Regions from separate parts of the Homo sapiens genome. Here all the other regions are linked to region 3. The links are contacts of gene promoters, found by promoter capture Hi-C in blood cells and fetal thymus (Javierre and others, 2016). All regions are on one chromosome and are shown on one strand. The core of a region is centred on a gene start or on the middle of the fragment in contact, and the rest is flanking DNA. Distances in the headings are between cores, read along the strand shown.

The links. The method cuts DNA at HindIII sites, captures the fragments that hold promoters and counts their contacts. A CHiCAGO score of 5 or more calls a contact.
Region 1: a fragment that was not itself captured here is called in contact with the fragment with the promoter of UBP1 in region 3 in 1 of 17 cell types (activated CD4 T cells); the score reaches 5.5 in activated CD4 T cells.
Region 2: the fragment with the promoter of SLC4A7 here is called in contact with the fragment with the promoter of UBP1 in region 3 in 1 of 17 cell types (naive CD8 T cells); the score reaches 6.2 in naive CD8 T cells.

What each region holds. Positions count from the first base shown.
Region 1 is chr3:23,918,819-23,921,674 of GRCh38, forward strand. It overlaps RPL15 (ribosomal protein L15), which reads left to right. Exons shown (of 4, transcript NM_002948.5): 4 at 378-2,171. The coding sequence ends at 683. It also overlaps a transcript of NKIRAS1 not described here. Among named protein-coding and RNA genes, the nearest start is that of RPL15, 3.1 kb to the left of the region's middle. The HindIII fragment of the contact is 2,659 bases long and covers 1-2,629 here.
Region 2 is chr3:27,482,972-27,485,671 of GRCh38, forward strand. It overlaps SLC4A7 (solute carrier family 4 member 7), which reads right to left and starts at 1,413. Exons shown (of 26, transcript NM_001321103.2): 1 at 1,096-1,413. The coding sequence starts at 1,155. RefSeq lists enhancers at 152-211, 372-581, 612-671, 687-1,463, 1,942-2,071 and silencers at 842-911, 942-1,301, 1,332-1,811. The HindIII fragment of the contact is 9,889 bases long and covers 1-1,732 here.
Region 3 is chr3:33,438,831-33,441,800 of GRCh38, forward strand. UBP1 (upstream binding protein 1) reads right to left here and starts at 1,575. Exons shown (of 16, transcript NM_014517.5): 1 at 906-1,575. The coding sequence starts at 1,018. RefSeq lists silencers at 580-814, 734-783, 1,014-1,333, 1,384-1,493, 1,554-1,713 and enhancers at 1,033-1,532, 1,864-2,053, 2,264-2,553. The HindIII fragment of the contact is 4,671 bases long and covers 1-2,970 here.

The DNA.
Region 1 (2,856 bases), core at 50-2,549, 9.5 Mb before region 3:
GACCAAATGTGGCCTGCACAGCCTAAAATATATACTAAATATTTTTAAAGCTAAACGTTGCTGAGCTCTCAGTTGTATGGAAAAAGATAAGGTCCCCAAACCCTAAATTTTGTTACCCAGATATTAACATATTCCTGCCCTAGTCAGGAATGGAGTATTAAGAGGGAATGATGTGTTTCAGTCTATGTGTGTTGTTTTAGCAAGTCTACATTATCTCATTACACTTGTGATAGTCTAGGGAGAAATGCTTAGTAAATAACTTGAGTAGTAAAAGACTCTTGTCTGGTGGTGAACTAGAGTTGAGAATTAAAATTCTTTCTGACTTGCTGCTATAGGCAATGTGGGAGATTGACCTTGGGCCTTTTTTCCTATTCTAGGAGCGAGCTGGACGCCACTGTGGGGCTCTGAGAGTCCTGAATTCTTACTGGGTTGGTGAAGATTCCACATACAAATTTTTTGAGGTTATCCTCATTGATCCATTCCATAAAGCTATCAGAAGAAATCCTGACACCCAGTGGATCACCAAACCAGTCCACAAGCACAGGGAGATGCGTGGGCTGACATCTGCAGGCCGAAAGAGCCGTGGCCTTGGAAAGGGCCACAAGTTCCACCACACTATTGGTGGCTCTCGCCGGGCAGCTTGGAGAAGGCGCAATACTCTCCAGCTCCACCGTTACCGCTAATATAAGTAAAGTTTGTAAAATTCATACTTAATAAACAATTTAGGACAGTCATGTCTGCTTACAGGTGTTATTTGTCTGTTAAAACTAGTCTGCAGATGTTTCTTGAATGCTTTGTCAAATTAAGAAAGTTAAAGTGCAATAATGTTTGAAGACAATAAGTGGTGGTGTATCTTGTTTCTAATAAGATAAACTTTTTTGTCTTTGCTTTATCTTATTAGGGAGTTGTATGTCAGTGTATAAAACATACTGTGTGGTATAACAGGCTTAATAAATTCTTTAAAAGGAGAGAACTGAAACTAGCCCTGTAGATTTGTCTGGTGCATGTGATGAAACCTGCAGCTTTATCGGAGTGATGGCAATGCTCTGCTGGTTTATTTTCAAGTGGCTGCGTTTTTTTTAGTTTGGCAGGTGTAGACTTTTTAAGTTGGGCTTTAGAAAATCTGGGTTAGCCTGAAGAAAATTGCCTCAGCCTCCACAGTACCATTTTAAATTCACATAAAAGGTGAAAGCTCCTGGTTCAGTGCCATGGCTTCATGGCATTCAGTGATTAGTGGTAATGGTAAACACTGGTGTGTTTTGAAGTTGAATGTGCGATAAAATTATTAGCCTTAAGATTGGTAAGCTAGCAATGAATGCTAGGGTGGGAAGCTGGTGAGCCAGTGGCCATTAGATAAATACCTTTCAAGTGTGAGCTTAGACGTCAACCCTAAAATACTTAACCGTAATGCTAATTGTGATCATTATGAATCCCTTCAGTCACATTAGGGGGAAAGTAGTTGGCTATAAGTACGTCATTCTTAGTCCAGTCAGTCTTAAAAACATCTTGGGTTACCCACTCTGTCCACTCCCATAGGCTACAGAAAAAGTCACAAGCGCATGGTTTCCAACCATATGTGTTTTCTGCAGTTATTTCTCTTGTTCTGGCCAAACAACCCTAAAAATCCTTACCATTCCACAAAGTTGGACCATCACTTGTGCACCCACTTTGACTATGAGTATACCACCACATTGCATTTCTGTTTGCACCATGTCTTCCAGGAGACTAGACTACTGTTGTCCAGGGTCAATTTGAGTGTAAAGAAAATGTAGACAAGGAATTGCCCAATTTTAAATTCTGACTTTGCTGACTTAATTTAAATGCTCGTTCTGAACCAATTTTCTCCTATCTTCTCTAGGGGTTTCAAAAGACTCAGTTAATTGATTTCCAGGAAGTACTCATAGCAAGTTCATAAAAGTTCTTGAGACCTAAATTTCTTCACAAAAAAAGAAAAGATCTTAAGTCATACATTTTAATTGTGTAGAGGTTGTTCAACTGAAGGAATAAATGTCTATTAAACTAAAACAAATGGACCTTCTGTTATTTTTTGTCATCTTACAGTGCTAATGTACTTTAAAGCAAACCAAATGCCCTAACCAGCAAAAAGGCATCAAAATGTGATTATAGAAATAATATAATTTGAGATAGCATAAAATGTACTTATTCTCTCAGTTCTTTGATCATTGCATGAATTAGGTTTTTATCTAAAACTGTTCAGCTGGGTGTGGTGGCTCAGGCCTGTAATCCTGGCACTTTGGGAGACAAGCTGGAGGATTTGTTGAGGCCAGCCTGGGCAGCATAGTGAGACCTAAAAACAAAAAAAATCCTTAAACATGACTAATTTGGGAAGGAGAGAAAGGGTTCGGGCCAAAGGTCAGCATTGTCTCTACAAGAAAACCTTGTTCCTGTCCTTGCTACCCAACAGTTTTATCTCCACACAGTAGTCCAAGGGATCCTATTAAATTGATCATGGCACTCCCGTGCAAAAAAATCAAAAGTCCTCATGATAGCTTTCATGATCTTCCCACTTTATGTGTGACCTCATGTCCTACTGCAGTCCACACCCCAGGCTCCTTGCTGTTTGTTCTTCAAATACACCAAACACTTCCTAATGCCTTTATGATGGGAAAGCTTTACTCCAATATTAAGGGTCACTTTATTAGCTATACCCTGACCGCCCCACAAGCTGTTCCCATTTGCTTTACTATTTCTATATTGGCATGTAATTCACACAGCAACATTGATTATTGAGTTTTTTTTTTTTTTTTTTTTTTTCCAGATGGAGTCTCACTCTCACTCAGGTGGGAGTGCAGTGGGGCAATCACGGCTCACTGCAACCTCTGTCTCCCGGGTTTG
Region 2 (2,700 bases), core at 163-2,662, 6.0 Mb before region 3:
AAGTTAAAAGGGAAAGCCGGCAGGCAGTTTTAAAGACAACTCTTGAATAAAAACATAGGAGAAGTAATTTTCCTCTTAGTTGTGAAAGACCGGACAATTTTCCCTGCAACCTTCCCGCCTTTGCTGGTTGCATAGTAAAAATTAGAAGTAGGAAAATTTAGAATACTTCCATCTCCTTTGAGTCACGAACTTGGAAAGGAGAAAGAGACAACTGCGGGGACGCATGTGCTCTAAAGAAAGCAGGAAGTCCGCTTCTTGAGCATGGGCCGTTCACCCATCATCACAAATGGGAACACCGGCCTTAAGTCCATCCCCATTCTCTTCTAACCCTGAAATCAAAGCCAGTCTCAGTAGGAAACGCGATCTTGCTAGCTGAGTTAGAGAAGGAGCACCAGACAGCTCAGGACACCCTCCTCCTTCTACTTGGCCTGCGGCAGGAGGATACTCCCCGGGTCCCAGCCAGTGGAGAAGGCGGACCCGGCAGGCAACAGCGAAAGAGCCTTGGCCGGGAAGGAGCGCGGCCAGTCCACGCGGCCGGAGAACTCACCGAACAAAGCGCACCGCGGAGCGGGAGGGGACACTCGGAAAGAGGGGGAAAGATTCAACCAGCTCTTCACCACTGCCTGGGGCTAGAGACAGGTGGAGCCGCCGTCCTCCTTAGAAGGAGAAGAAAGATAGGTTTTCGAGGGCTAATCTGAAACTCCTGCGCCAAGGCAACCGGAACCGGGACCCCGCCTGGGGAGCGCGCTAAGAAACAGGGGAGGCGAGCGCTGAGGGAAGGGATGGATGGTCGGGGTCACAGGCGGCCTCTGCGGGGATGTCGGGGTCCCGCCTGAGCCGCGCAGAGGATGCCCGCGGCGCGCCGCCGGCCGCCCCGACTCGGGCCTCCCGAGCGCAGCCGCTGGCCCCCTCCCACCCGCGCCCCAGGCCGCCACACAAAGGGGATGGCGAGGCGCGCCGGCCGCCGGGAGGTGGAGGGGCGACGGGCCTGGGACGAGGTGGCCGAGCCGCGACGCCCGCCGCGCCCCCCGCCTTTGTCTGCCTCGCCCCGCGCCCTCCCCCTGCGGAGGAGCCCCACCGCCGCGGCGCCCTCACCCTGCTCGTTACCCGGGTGAGTAGCGGTCTCATCTGCTCGCCGGCCCCATCAGCCTCCATGGCCGGCCGGCCAGCCCGTGACGGCCGCTACGGTACTGCCCCGCGCGGTCTGCCTGCTTCTGCCGCTGCCCCTGCCGCCGCCGCCGAGCCCCCGGCGCGCGAGGACAAACGTGGGTGCGTCCGTGCGCGAGGTGTGCGCGCGTGGGGAGAGCCGGGCGCCGGGCGCGGGAGACGCGGGGCGTGCGTGTGCGCGCTGCGACTGCTGGGCTGGCTTTAGTAGGAGAGCGAGGCCGCGGCGTGGAACCTGAAGCTAGAACTGAGCGAACCGGCGGACCGAGCGGGAAGGAGGAGAGCCGCGTAGGAGGAGGGGTTCGGGGGCGGAGCCGCAAACCGTGACGAGCCCGGCGCCGGGGCCAGGCAAGACACGCCCCCCCGCCCCGCCTCCTCGGGTCACGCCCCCTGCCAGTCTGGCACCGCCAGCCTCCTCAGCGCGCCCGCGGGCCGCGCCGCTAGGCCACCGGGAGATGGGGCGGGAGGGAGGCGGGACGGACATTTGTCCCAGCCAATCGGCGGCTGGCGGACTTCCGCTCGCCTCCCCCGTGCCACCTCCTCAGGACGCACCGCCCCTCTTTGTATAAGCTTAATTGACCGAAGCTGAGCGTCTAACTAGTTTTTCAAGTCGGAAGCTCCCCTGACGTTCTCAATGGGGTGGGGGGTCACCACCTCCCTTGGCTCCTAACTACATTCTTTAGAGGCTGCAGGGAAGGAGGACGCCACCTCTGTCAAGGACGCCCAGGATAACCCTCCGAAGCAACTAACGAGTCTTCACGACTCCTGGAAGTTTCTTTTCTGTCAATCCAGTAGGCACGAACCCCAACTCAGGGACCGTGAAAGATGGGGTACACTTGACCAGGTGTCCTCCTGTGCTTGCTCGCCCACTGAGCACCACGACAGCTGCCACTTTTTTTTTTTTTTTTTTTTTTTTTGAGACAGAGTCTTGCACCAGCCCAGGTTGGAGTGCAATGGCATGATCTCGGCTCACTGCAACCTCCGCTGCCTGGGTTCAAGCTATTCTCCTGCCTCAGCCTCCTGAGTAGCTGGGACTACAGACGCGCGCCACCACGCCCGGCAACTTTTTGTATTTTTAGTAGAGACGGGGTTTCACCATGTTGGTTAGGCTGGTCTCGAACTCCTGAGCTAAGGTGATCCACCAGCCTCAGCCTCCCAAAGTGCTGGGATTACAGGCATGAGCCACCACACCCGGCCAGCTGCCACATTATTGAGTCCACCCTGTAGGCCGTCTCTCAAATATCCCTTCTGTAACGGGATGATTGTAATACCTGCCATGCAGGCTCATTGAAGGATTAAGGGGATTTATATTCATAAAAGTGCCTGGCACATAGCATGCTGATAATTTTCATTATTGTTAACAGGTTTCTCTTGAGTGTTTCATAAAGATGAGAAATTTGGCCGGGCGCGGTGGCTTACGCCTGTAATTACAGCAGTTTGGGAGGCCGAGGCGGGCGGATCACCTGAGATCAGGAGTTCGAGACCAGCCTGACCAACATGACGAAACCCCGTGTCTACTAAAAATACAAAAATTAG
Region 3 (2,970 bases), core at 325-2,824:
AAACTGTAGAGCACTTCCAAAACATCAGACATTTTCTAAAGAACAGAAAGCTACACTTAATTCACATTATTGAAAAGCTGCCAAACCACTGATTTTTAGACTTTATTAGTCAAGTCAACGCTATGGTAAACTATATTTCAATAAAGCCACTAAAAAAATACAGAGTTTCCAAATTCCTAACAGTTAAAAAGGATAAAGGGCGGAGACTAAGCTCAGATCTGTTTCAATCTCTCCATATTAAAATGAATGACTGCTGGTACAGACAGCAGAGACTAAACAATTATTTGTGGTGCAATCACTGCATCTTAAAACCCTCAAGAGGAAACAGCCTGAGAGGGTAGTCTCCAAAATGAGAAACTTCACTTTGAGACAATCAAAAGAACAAAACGAAGTCACAGTGCTACTCCCACCGCTGCTCTTTCAATTATAATTTACTAACATCAAGTGATTAAAATCTGCAGCCAGAAAAGATCATAATGTAGGACAACAAAGTAGGAACTGATCCCAAAACGCTAGACAGTATTCTCCCAATATAAGTGCTGCCTTTTCGTACAGTGTATTCTAGCTCCAATGGGACTTGTAAATCACTTATAAGGAAAAGAAGCCCCTTCCCCCACCAACCCAAGCCATCCTAATAGCTGGGCGTGTTTTACAGCAAATATGAAGCACTCAGGAGCGGTCCGAGGCCGACGCTTGCGGGGCCATCCTCCCCCACCCGCCCGTCACCAGGGCGAGCAGAGGCCTTTGGGGTTCCATGGCCCCCGACCGCCACGCGGCAGGACTCCGACCCCGCAGCCCAGGAGGCCCGCGCACCTCTGGGAGCAGCCGCATCTGGCAGAGACTCAGGGCTGCGCAGGCCTTCCCCAAGGAGACAGAGGCTTCTCCCCGCCCAGGGAGCCCAGTACCTCATGCTGTAAGCGCCGGCGCCCAGTTCCTGCCCGATGCCCGAGAGGCTGGCGTCGAAGTCGTGCACCAGCCCGGACTCGATCACCTCGTCCATCTTGAGCACCCAGGCCATCTTCCGGCCTCGCCGTCGCCCCGCACACCGCGGCCTCCGCGTCCAGGGCGAAGGAGCCGGAGCTCCGCTGGCGCGTCCTGGGGGAGGGCGCGGGTGAAGCCTCCGGAGGGGCGGCGAGTGGTCACCAGCGGCGGCCGGGACGAGAGCTGCGGGGGCCCCACTGGCAGGGCACGACGAGCCCAGCGAGCAATTGCAGCGGGAGCGGCCGGGCCGCCGGCAGCGCCACCCTCCCGCGGACACCGGCCCTGCGCCTCATGCCGGCGCCGCCGCCCAGCCCCCGCGCCGCTAGCGCTGCAGCCGCCGCCGACCGCCCCGCCCGGGGCCCCCCGGTCGCATCCTCCTCCGGGACCGCTGGGAGGCTGGACCTCGGGCCGCTCCGAGGACCACACGGGGGCAAGCCCTCCGCCCGCCCGTCACCCGCCCCCAAGCCTTGACTCCTTGCCCCCGGCCCGCCCAGGCTCTAGCGCCACACCGCCCCGGCCAACCCCGCCGACGCCGCTCTGCCGGCCGGACGCTGGCTTCAACGCGACTCCGACTTAGGTTCACGCGCCGCTTCCGCCTCCCCCGGCCCCGCCCCGACCCCGCCCCGGCGTTCGCCCCACGCCTCGGCCCTCCCCGTACAGCCCCGCGCTTAGGGCCACTCCCCGCGCCTCGCGGCCCAGGAACTGTCCAGAGAGTGCAATGCGGCCCCGCCCACGCGGCTGTTCCCAGCCGGGGTGGCCTCGCTGCGTCCCCGCACAGCAGCCCAGGAAGAGGCGGTGCCAAAAGGGCTGCCAGTTTCCGCCCCTTCTAGCGAGCGAGATGATTGACAGGCCAACTGAGCAATACCTGCAAGGGCTTGGACGAAGCTCCCGTGAGTCTCTGTGTCCCCCGACTAAACAACCAATCAAAATGTTCTTCACCTTGGGCGGGCTCGAAGACGGAATTTGTTGCCAAAAGAAAGAGTTCATTGGACTGCATGGTAGAAAGCGACCCAAAACGCCACTTCCGGAGGTGATTTGCTCCTCTGTGGTATTTCCCGGTCGTCTCTGCTTTATGCCCTCTCTACCGAGGGAGTGAGCGGTTTGCACCCCATCTGGTGACAGAAAAGCCAGTTGTGCAGAAAACCTTGATTGGCGTGAGAATAAGCCAATCAACGCTCCTGAGAAAGAGCTCTGGAAAGACTTCCCCTATTGGTTGCATTGCCGAGAGCAGCTTGGCTATCCTGAGTTGAACTAGCTGTTGGTCATCCTAAGGGCAGGCGGTCTCCTGAAGTTGGACCGAACCATTAGGACGTGCCACAGTAACAGCTACGCTGCTCAGAAGGCCCGAAGGGTCTTCCTCAGCGACCTAGCGTGGGCACGCGCCACTGCGGCCAAAAGACAGAAATCTTTTTACCGGAAGAGATGAAATAGAAAGCAGGAGCCAGAGGCTGACTTACAGAGCCAGTGTGCGGATCAGAGTTCCTTAGGAGCGGCTGCTGGCGCTTGACGGGCGGAATCCTTGCTGAAGAGAACGTCAAGGCCCGGGCTTCGCCCTGCATCGAACTTACTGCCTAAGAATAAGACCCAAATGCTGAGCGCCCCGCCCCAACTTGCCAGTTTAAGTGCAAAAATACATAGATTAAAATGTCAGCCTAATAAAGCAGTGGCACTGAGCCAGAAAAAAATAGTCTCAACGCCTGTGTGATTTAGATACTAACTTACAGGCTCACGCCTGTAATCCCAGCACTTCGGGAGGCCGAGGCGGGTGAATTAGTTGAGGTCAGGAGACCATCCCGGCCAACATGGTGAAACCCCGTCTCTACCAAAAATAACAAAAATTAGCTGGATGTGGTGGCGCGCCCATGTAATCCCAGCTACTCAGGAGGCTGAGGCGGGAGTAAGGCTTGAACCCGGGAGAAGACAGAGCAACACTCGGTCTCCAAAAAAAAAAACCACAAATTAACTTGGAGAATGTTTTTCTCTTTACAC